Linked DNA regions of Homo sapiens: region 1 is linked to region 2. Evidence: promoter capture Hi-C in human tissues and cell types (Jung and others, 2019). All regions are on one chromosome and are shown on one strand. The core of a region is centred on a gene start or on the middle of the fragment in contact, and the rest is flanking DNA. Distances in the headings are between cores, read along the strand shown. Region 1 has its middle 4.4 kb from the start of SHTN1. Region 2 holds the start of ENO4 (enolase 4).

Region 1 (4,416 bases), core at 935-3,434, 160 kb before region 2:
GCATCTAGATCTTTCACATATTTTGCTAGATTTATACCTAAGTGCTTCAGTATTTTTAGTGCTATTGTAAATGTTATTAATTTTTAATGTCAAATTCTAATTGTTCATTGCTGGTGTATGGAATACAGTTGACTTTTGCATTTGTCTAATGACTAATGATGTTGAGCATCTTTTCAAGGGCTTATTGACCTTGTATCCTGTAACCTCACTAAACTCAAGTATTTGTTTTAGAAGCATTTAAAGAAATTCTTTGGTATTTTCCACATAGGAAATTTTGCCATCTATGAATAGAGATGGTACTGGCATAAGGACAGACATATTGACTAATAGAATAAAATAGAGAGCCCCAAAATAAATCCTCATGTATATCACCAGTTGATTTTCAACAAGGGTACCAAGACCACTCAATGGGGAAAGGACAGCCATTTAACAAGTGGTATTGGGAAAAGTAGATATCCACATGCAAAAGACTGAAGTTGGTATGAAGGTAGAAAAGGCCTAACAAAAATTAACTAAAAATGGACCAAAGACCTAAACTTAAGAGCTAAATTCAGCTAAAACTACTGAATTCATCTATTAGCTCTAGTAGCTTTTTCACAGATTATTTGGGATTTTCTCTATATAGCTATATGTCATATGTGAATAGAGATAGCTTTACGTCCTCCTTTCCAACTTGGATGCCTTTTCTTTCTTTTTCTTGTCTAATTGAACTTGCAGCACACTGTTGAATAGCAGTGATGAAAGCACATATTCTTGTCTCGTTCCTAATTTCAGGGGGAAAGCTTTCAGTCTTTCACCATTGACCATGATTATAGCTGTGGCTTCTTTACAGATGCCCTTTATCATGGTGAGGATGTTCCATCTATTACTGGTTTGCTAAGAGTTTTTATGGTGAAACGATGCTGACTTTTGTCAAATGCCTTTTCTGTCTCAATTGAGATGATCACCTGGTTTTTTTCCTATTAATGTGACATATTACATTGATTGATTTTCTTATGTTGAACCACTTTTGCATTCCTGGAATAAGTACTACCTGGTCGTGGTGTATAATCCTTTTAATGTGTTGTTGGATTTGGTTTGTTAGTATTTTGTTGAGGATTTTTGCAACCATATTCATAAGAGAAATTGGTGTGTACATTTCTTTTCTTTGTGATATCCTTATCTGGCTTTGGTATCACAGAAATGCTGGCCTCATAGAATGAGTTAGGAAGTGTTCTCTCCTTTTTTGTGTTTTAGAAAAGTTTGAGAAAGACTGGTGTTAATTCTTTAAATGTTTGATAGAATTCACCAGGAAAGACATCTGGGCCTGAACTTATTTTCATTGAAGGGTGTCTTTCTTTTCTTTTCTTTTCTTTTTTTAATACTTTCTGAATTACTCTACTTATAATAGTTCTGCTGAAATTTTCTTTTTCAGTTAGTTTAGGTGACTTGTGTGTTTCTGGGAATTTGTCCATTTCTTCTAGGTTATTTAATTTGTTGACATATAATTGTTCTTATTATTCTCTTAGAATCCTTTTTATTTCTGAATCATTGGTATTACTGTCCCCATTTTAATATCTGATTTTCATATTTCTTTTTTTTCTTCGTTAATTTAGGGAAAGGATTGTCAATTTTGATACTTTCAAAGAAATAGCTTTTTATTAATTCTATTATTTTTCTATTGTCTTTTATTTTATCTCCACTCTAATCTTCATTATTTTATTCCTTCTGCTAACTTTAGGTTTATTTTGCTTGTCTATTTTCTCAAGGTGTACAGTTACCTTATTGATTTTGTATCTTTCTTTTATAATGTAGTAATTAGAACTATAAATTTCTCTCTGAGCACTGTCTTCACGGTATTCCATAAGTTTTTTTTTTCTTTTCCTTTTTTTTGAGACAGTCTCACTCTGTCGCCCAGGCTGGAGTGCAGTGGCGCGATCTCGGCTCATTGCAAGCTCCGCCTTCCGGGTTCATGCCATTCTCCTGCCTCAGCCTCCCAGTAGCTGGGACTACAGGCGCCCGCCACCACGCCCGGCTAATTTTTTGTATTTTTAGTAGAGACGGGGTTTCACAGTGTTAGCCAGGATGGTCTCAATCTCCTGACCTCGTGATCTGCCCGTCTCGGCCTCCCAAAGTGCTGGGATTACGGGCTTGAGCCACCGTGCCCAGCTTGTATATATGTTTATAGTAATTATATATTCTTACCGAATCAACCCTTTTGTGAATATAGACTTTTGTTTATTGTAACAGTTTTTGACTTAAAGTCTGTTTTGTCTGATATTAATATAACCACCCCAACTCTCTTTTGGTTACTAATTAAATTTTTTCCTACCATTTTGCTTTAAATCTATTGTTGTCTTTGGATCTAAAATAAATATTTTGTAGACATCATATAGTTAGATCATACTTTTTTTTGCATCCTGCCAGTGTTTGCCTTTTGGAGAGTTTAAGCCATCTTCATTTAAAGTTACAGTTAATAAGAAATGACTTATTTCTGCAATTTTGCTATGTATTATCTATATGTCTTATAGCTCTTTTGCTCTTCATTTGCTTCATTATTGCCTTATTTTATACTTAGTTTTTAAAAAAATGTGTATGTTTTTGGTAATCATTTTGACTTCTTTCTCCTTTCCTTTTGTGCATATTTGGTTGATATTTTCTTTTCTTTTCTTTTTTTTGAGACAGAATTTTGCTCTTGTTGCCCAGGCTGGAGTGCAATGGCACGATCTCGGCTCATTGCAACCTCCTCCTCCTGAGTTCAAGTGATTCTCCTGCCTCAGCCTCCTGAGTAGCTGGGATTACAGGCATGTGCCACCACGCCCAGCTTATTTTTTATATTTTTAATAGAGATTGGGTTTCTTCATATTGGTCAGGCTGGTCTCAAACTCCTGACCTCCGGTGATCCACCCGCCCTGGCCTCCCAGAGTACTGGGATTACAGGCGTGAGCCACAGCGCCCGGCCAATTCTATAGTTTTGAGTATATTCAGAGAATTGTACAACCATTACCACAATTAATTTTAGAAAATTTGTATTACCCCAACAATTAACCACACACCTATCAGCAGCCATTCCCTGTTTTCTCCCAGACCTCCCCTACTTTCACCCCACCTCAGTAGATACTCACCAATCAACTTTCTCCCTCTATGGATTTGCCTGTTGTGATCATTTTATACAAGTGCAATCATACAATATCTGGTCTTTTCTGATCAAGTTTTCACTGAGTATAATGTTTTCAAATTTCATCTGTGTTGTACCATATATCAGTACTTTATTTTTATTACCAAATAATATTCCAATATTGCCATTTTCATATGATAATTAACATTACATTAAATAGCTCTGTACATAAGCCTTTTAGGATAGATTCCCTGATATAGAATTAGTGGATCAAAGACAGTGAACCTTCTTCTCCTCATTGTATTTCAATCTTATTTATCTGTATACCTCAAAAGATGACATATGTGATTTTACTTTAATTACCTGAAAAATTAAATAAAGATTAAAGAGAAACTCCTTCTTGACCACTGCACTTTCACACTCCAACCCCCACACCTTGGTCCTGTTCCCCTACTTTCTATCCCTAGAGACAGCCATTATCCTGAGTTTGGCACATATTCTTCCAATTCATTTTTTAAAAGTCTGTCCTTTATCTCTATGTATATATTTGTATATATATATGTAAACACACACATTTTTAAGGGTTTTAAATGACCTGTTATTTGGAGGTCAATAGTAACTCCAACGTGATGCCTGCAACATAAATCACTATGTATATTATTATTATTGAGATGGAGTCTCGCTCTGTCACCCAGGCTGGAGTGCAGTGGCATGATCTCGGCTCACTGCAACCTTCGCCTCTCGGGTTCAAGTGATTCTCCTGCCTCAGCCTCCCGAGTAGCTGGGACTACAGGTGCCCGCCACCACACCCAGCTTTTTTTATTTTTAGTAGAGACAGGGTTTCACCGTGTTAGCCAGGATGGTCTCAATCTCCTGACCTCGTGATCTGCCCGCCTCGGCCTCCCATAGCCATCACTCTGTATATTATTAAACGGAACAAAAACTAATTTATCACTTCTATCCTTTCCATCAATATTCATATCATATAAATAAACAATAGTGTAATGGGAGAACTGAATCCCAATAAGGACTCTAATAGCCCTCCTAATAATTCATACCATGTCCTCAAGTGAATGCCATATTGTATTTCAGGAGTTTTTTTTTTTTTTTTTTTTTTTTTTGAGATGGAGTCTCACTCTGTCACCCAGGCTGCAGTGCAGTGGCAGAATCTCAGCTCAGGAGCCTTTTCTAATTTTAAGGAGGATAAATGGGATTAATTGCAAGAGGCCGCAGATTTAGTATGGAACCAAAAGTTTGATTATAGATTTGATAATTAACTCATTCTTAAACTCCAGAAATACTATCTAACTACTGTATAA
Region 2 (5,131 bases), core at 2,632-5,131:
ACAGTTCCACAAAAATTAACTGTCCAAGATCACTTAGCTAATGTTTTCATTATCTACTGCTTTGGTTTTTTTTTTTTTTTTTTTTGAGACGGAGTCTCACTCTGTCACCCAGGCTGGAGTGCAGTGGCACAATCTTGGCTCGCTGCAAGCTCCGCCTCCCGGGTTCACGCCATTCTCCTGCCTCAGCCTCACGAGTAGCTGGGACTACAGTCGCCCGACACCACTCCCAGCTAATTTTTTGTATTTTTAGTAGAGACAGGGTTTCACCGTGTTAGCCAGGATGGTCTCGATCTCCTGACCTTGTGATCCGCCCGCCTCAGCCTCCCAAAGTGCTGGGATTACAGGCGTGAGCCACCGCGCCCGGCCATTATCTACTGCTTTGTAACAGACCACCCCAAACCTTGGTGGTTTAAACCATTAACTTGCTCATGGTCCTGTAATCTGGGTGGGGCTTCAACTGGGAAATTCTTTTGCTGGGCTTCTCTGGAGTCCCTTATGCAGATGTAATCATCTGGAGGCTTGACAGGAGCCAGCATATCCAAGCTGTTTTCACTCAATGTCCAGTGCCGTAGCTGGGATGGCTGGCACAGTGAGGGGTTGGCTGGGCATCTATCTTTCTCACAGGATATCCTGAGGGGTCTCGTATCTGCCAAGGTCTTTCTCTACACAACCTCACTCTTTCCAGTAGGGTAATTGGGACATCCTCACAGCATGATGACTAGATTCCAAGAGGACAAGCTTCCATATGCCAGCACTGATCAACTCTCTGTTTGTATCGTGTTTGTCAAGGTCCTATTGATCAAAGTAAGTGACATAGCCAATTCCAGAGTCAGTGTGGGAGGGACTTACAAAAAGGTGTTCACACTGGAAGTGTAGTTTCTTGGAGGACCATCAGTGTAACTCTATCACAGTGAGGAAGTGGCAGAGATAAGAATCAAAACCAGATCTGCCACATTCCCAGTCCAAAACTCTCTCATTCAGTTTTATGATGATGGAATAAATTGTATTGTTATTGCCTACAAGGATCTTTACCATGTGTGAATTCCTCTAATATGTCTGTCTTAGTTTGTTCTCACACTGCTATCAAGGACTGCCTGAGACTGGGTAATTTATAAAGGAAAGAGGTTTAATTGACTCACAGTTCTGCACAGCTGCAGAGGCCTCAGGAAACTTACAATCATGGTGGAGGGAGAAGCAAACACATCCTTCTTCACATGAGGGCGGGAAGGAGAAGTGCAAAGTGAAGCGGGGAAGCCCCTTATAAAACCATCAGCTCTCATGAGAAGTCACTATCACGAGAACAGCATGAGAGTAACCACCCCCATAATTTAATTACCTCCCACCCGGTCCCTCCCCACATGTCATATGTGGGGATTATGAGCAGTACAATTCAAGATGAGGTTTGGGAGGGGATAGAGCCAAGCCATATCAATGTTGGAGAGGGACAGAAGAAATGACATTGGAGCTGAACACTGGAGGAGGTATAGTGTTTCAGTGCCAGTCAAGGGGGAGATGTGGTGAGCAGATATTTCAGGGAGAGAGAATGGGACAAGCAAAGAGGAGGGAGGTAGGAAACTTCTGGCTTTGGGGAACAGTCAGTGATTCGGTGTAGAGGAGGAGGGCAGGGAGTGGGAGATGCGCCTGTTACCAGAGGGAGGGGCTGAGCACTGTGAACCACACACATGAAGGCCAGCAAGCACGGGAAAGCCACAGGAGGTTCTGAGGAAGAGAAGTGTGGTCAGACTTGCATGTTAGGACACTGCTCTGGCAGCATTCTGCAGGATGAACTAGATAGAGGGAGAGACGAGGTGAGAGTAAGCACGGCCAAAACTAGGGCAGTTACTAAGAAAAGGAAAAGGAGATTGCTTTTTTCTGTTTTTCTTTTTGAGACGGAGTCTCGCTCTGTTGCCGAGGCTGGAGTGCAGTGGTGCAATCTCGGCTCACTGCAACCTCCGATTCCCAGGTTCAAGGAGTTTGCTTTTTTGCCTCTGCAATTCCTGAACATCCTTCGAAGTCCAAGCCAAAGCCTTCCTGGATATACAGCCTCCAAGGATCTTTTCCATCCCTGAATTCCTTTAATAGGCATATAGGGATCTGCCCCTCAATCTAGCACACAGTCATCTATCACCTTATCTTTTGCTCCAATTATTTTATGTATTAGTGACTTTTGTCCCAAACTAAGATGTAAGTTCCCAGAGAGCTGTACAAACGAATATCCTGGCTGCCTAATAGAATAAGAAGATCATTATACTGGGGAACAAGAGTCCATGTTTTTAGTCCTAGCTTGTACACTAAGTAGCTGTGAGACAAAGACTTGGTGTCCCTGTAAAATGAGGACGTTAGAATAGATTGTGTTCAAGAATTCCTCTAGCAACAGATAGTAGGAAGAGAATGGAATGAGAGTCAAGCATTCACTCATTCATCCTGCAGGTAGTTTCTCAGCATCCACTGTGTGCCATGCACTCTGCTGGGTACTAGGGACACAAATGTGGTTTGATTTTTTTTCTTCTGTCACTATGTCCTTTGGGAAAATCATTTAAATTGCACTGGCCACAGGTTCTTTATTTGTAAAATGGGAATCATCATTTTTACCTCGTCGCAGTGGTACTGAGGATTGAGTTACAGTACGCAGCACAAGGGGCTCAGTAAACCCCACACCTCTCCCCTTTGATAGTATAGGCCATGAGTGGGAAAAAGTCATTCGCGGAACATCCTTTATATCAACTGCCTCAATACGACGTGGTTTTGCACCCTGACAGCACATCTGCCTCTTCATAGGACTCCTTCTGCTTGGTGTTCACATTGCCTCCTTGCTTTGCCTTGCCATAGTGCAAACTCCTAGGGGCCCCAGCCACACTGCCTTCCTTACTACTTATAGATCTGGAAGGGAGAAAACGTCTTTGCTTCAGCTGCTCACTGCTTAACGCTAAGGTATGTGCCAGATCTCAGGGCTGGGCAGAGACCCGGAAGGTGAGAAGACAAGGCTTCTGAGCCCAGCAGGGGCTCACAGGCTGCCTAGGGAGGCTGCCTCAAGAGACTACAATACACGAAGGAAATGCTGTAGGAACCCAGAAGGACGGTTGGTCCAGGGCTACGTGGGCAAGGCTTTGGTCTGAATTTTGGAGTTTAGGGCGGGGCTGGTCAGATATTAACTGGCATCCCGGCAGAGGAGCCAGTAGGATGAGGCCCCAGAATAGGCTGAAGCCAAGTTGTAGCAAACGCCAAGGTGTTCATCCTGTGATCAAAGAGGAGCTGCTTAAGGTCGGTGAGCTGAGCTGAGGGCATTAAGGTATGTGTTAAAAATGACAATTGGCAAGCATGGGCGGTGGGCCGGCCCACAAACGGAGAGGCCTCTTAGGCAGCGAGGAAGCCTGCCAGCCCCTGGGCTGCCGCTGCAGGTCAAATACGCCTAGCGCCCTCTTTCCTCCAGCTGCCTCCTTTCTGCCACTTTCTCTGGGGAGATCCCTTCACCCCTGGGTGTCCTTCCCGCTCCTTCCCTCCAGAAGTCTCCTCCGCACACGCAGGCCCAGGGCCCGGGCGGCTGGCATGCGAGATTCTGAGGCGCAGGCGCAGGCGCAAGGCGTTGCCGCAGCGCGGGGCGGGGGGAGAGGGGTTGGCGGGAGGAGAGCGCTTGTCCCAGGTCCCTACCAGGTGCCCGTAGACGTCGGCAGGCTGGAGGTAGAAGGTGGAGTTGAGCAGCTCTTCCAGCCTGCGCGGAACGTCGTTCTCCCGGTAGTACTCCATCGCCTGCTGCTTCAGCTTCTGCAGCTCCCTAGTGGTCCCACAGCTGCGGCCGCCGCCTTCTTCCTCCATGGTAGGAGATTTAAGGCTACAGCGGGGTTTAGCCTGGGGTCCCACGAGCGTCCCTGCTGTCGCTAGGCAACGCAACGTGATCCCGACCCCCAGATCTCGCGTGGCTTCCAGGCCTAGGTTCTTCCTGCGGTAAAAGTCGTTCCCTTTTATTGGAGCTAGGATGGTATTTGCGCTCGCTGCTCTGTCTTTTCTCCCTGCGGCATTAGGTCCGGGGGTTGGGCTCCTCCTAGACTCCCGAGACTAGGGCCCTCCCGGCTTCGTTTTTCACCACTTTTCCCTGGCGATTTTCCAGAGGGGGAAATCTTTAACGACCTCATCAAGCGCGTTTTGCCGGAGCGCGGCAGCCTTAGCTCCGAATTCCGGCTGGGGTCGCGCGCTCGGGTCCCAGTGGCCCAGCGTCTTGGGCCACCCCGCCCTCCCCACGCGCCCCCTTGCTCTCTGCTGTTAGTGAGCTCCTCCGGGTTGCTAAGGCCGCCCGTGCCAGGCAGGCCCACTCTGTTGGGGGAGGGATGTAGGGGCTCAGGGCATCCTTACTGAGCGGTGGCGATCTCAGGAATTCTTTCATTCGGCTCATGTTTATTAACTACCTGCTCTGAGCCGAGCCGTGTGCTGGCTGGGCCTGCTATGATGTCCAGGAGAGAAACGGCCACTTGCCCTTCTCTGGGATATTAGTGGGGGTGAAATCAATGGAATGAAAAAAACCAGTGTGGGTTGAAAATATCTGGGGTGAACCCTAAGGGATGGTTGTGGTTTGGGCAGACCTAAGGATGGGGGATGATTCAGGCAGGACTTGGGGAGGTAAAACGGAAATGGGGGAATGGCCTTGGCTCACGTTCCCTCTCCAGAATGCTGCCTATGTCCTTGCCCTTTTCAATCCGAAGTGCCTTCCTGGCTTCATTGTACCTGCCAGGTATCATGCGATTACAGAACTTAGTGTGCGTCCTCAGTTCTAGATACTTCCTCTGCTGCAGGAGTGGGCGGCGACGGACAGGGTGTTCTTGTTCCACTCACGCCTGTTTATGTTTCCTACCTAAGCAGATCAGTTACAAGATCTGTGCCACACTTTCCCCCCTCTGGAAAACATCATCTTACCTCCTCTGCCTGTTTCCCGAGTCACTTAGTACAAAATGAGGAAGTGAGTGAGAAAGCACTTTGAAACACAGTTATTTTCAATACATGCACGTATGGGTGCAGATGCATAAAAATGTGATGCTATAAGTACTGTTACACAAACCCAGACATGCACCTTCCAAACTTCCTCCGTGTTCTCTCTGCTCTCTTACGGAACGTCTCACTGTCTGTGTGTAATGGACCATCA

The links. The method cuts DNA at HindIII sites, captures the fragments that hold promoters and counts their contacts. A contact is called where the count stands out against the background at its distance.
Region 1: a fragment that was not itself captured here is called in contact with the fragment with the promoter of ENO4 in region 2 in 3 of the 25 tissues and cell types used here (IMR-90 fibroblasts, dorsolateral prefrontal cortex and hippocampus).

Annotation. Positions count from the first base shown.
Region 1 is chr10:117,007,357-117,011,772 of GRCh38, reverse strand. It overlaps a transcript of SHTN1 not described here. Among named protein-coding and RNA genes, the nearest start is that of SHTN1, 4.4 kb to the right of the region's middle. The HindIII fragment of the contact is 7,810 bases long and covers 1-4,416 here.
Region 2 is chr10:116,848,249-116,853,379 of GRCh38, reverse strand. It overlaps ENO4 (enolase 4), which reads right to left and starts at 3,881. Exons shown (of 14, transcript NM_001242699.2): 1 at 3,649-3,881. The coding sequence starts at 3,813. It also overlaps a transcript of HSPA12A not described here. RefSeq lists an enhancer at 5,065-5,131. The HindIII fragment of the contact is 11,920 bases long and covers 1-5,131 here.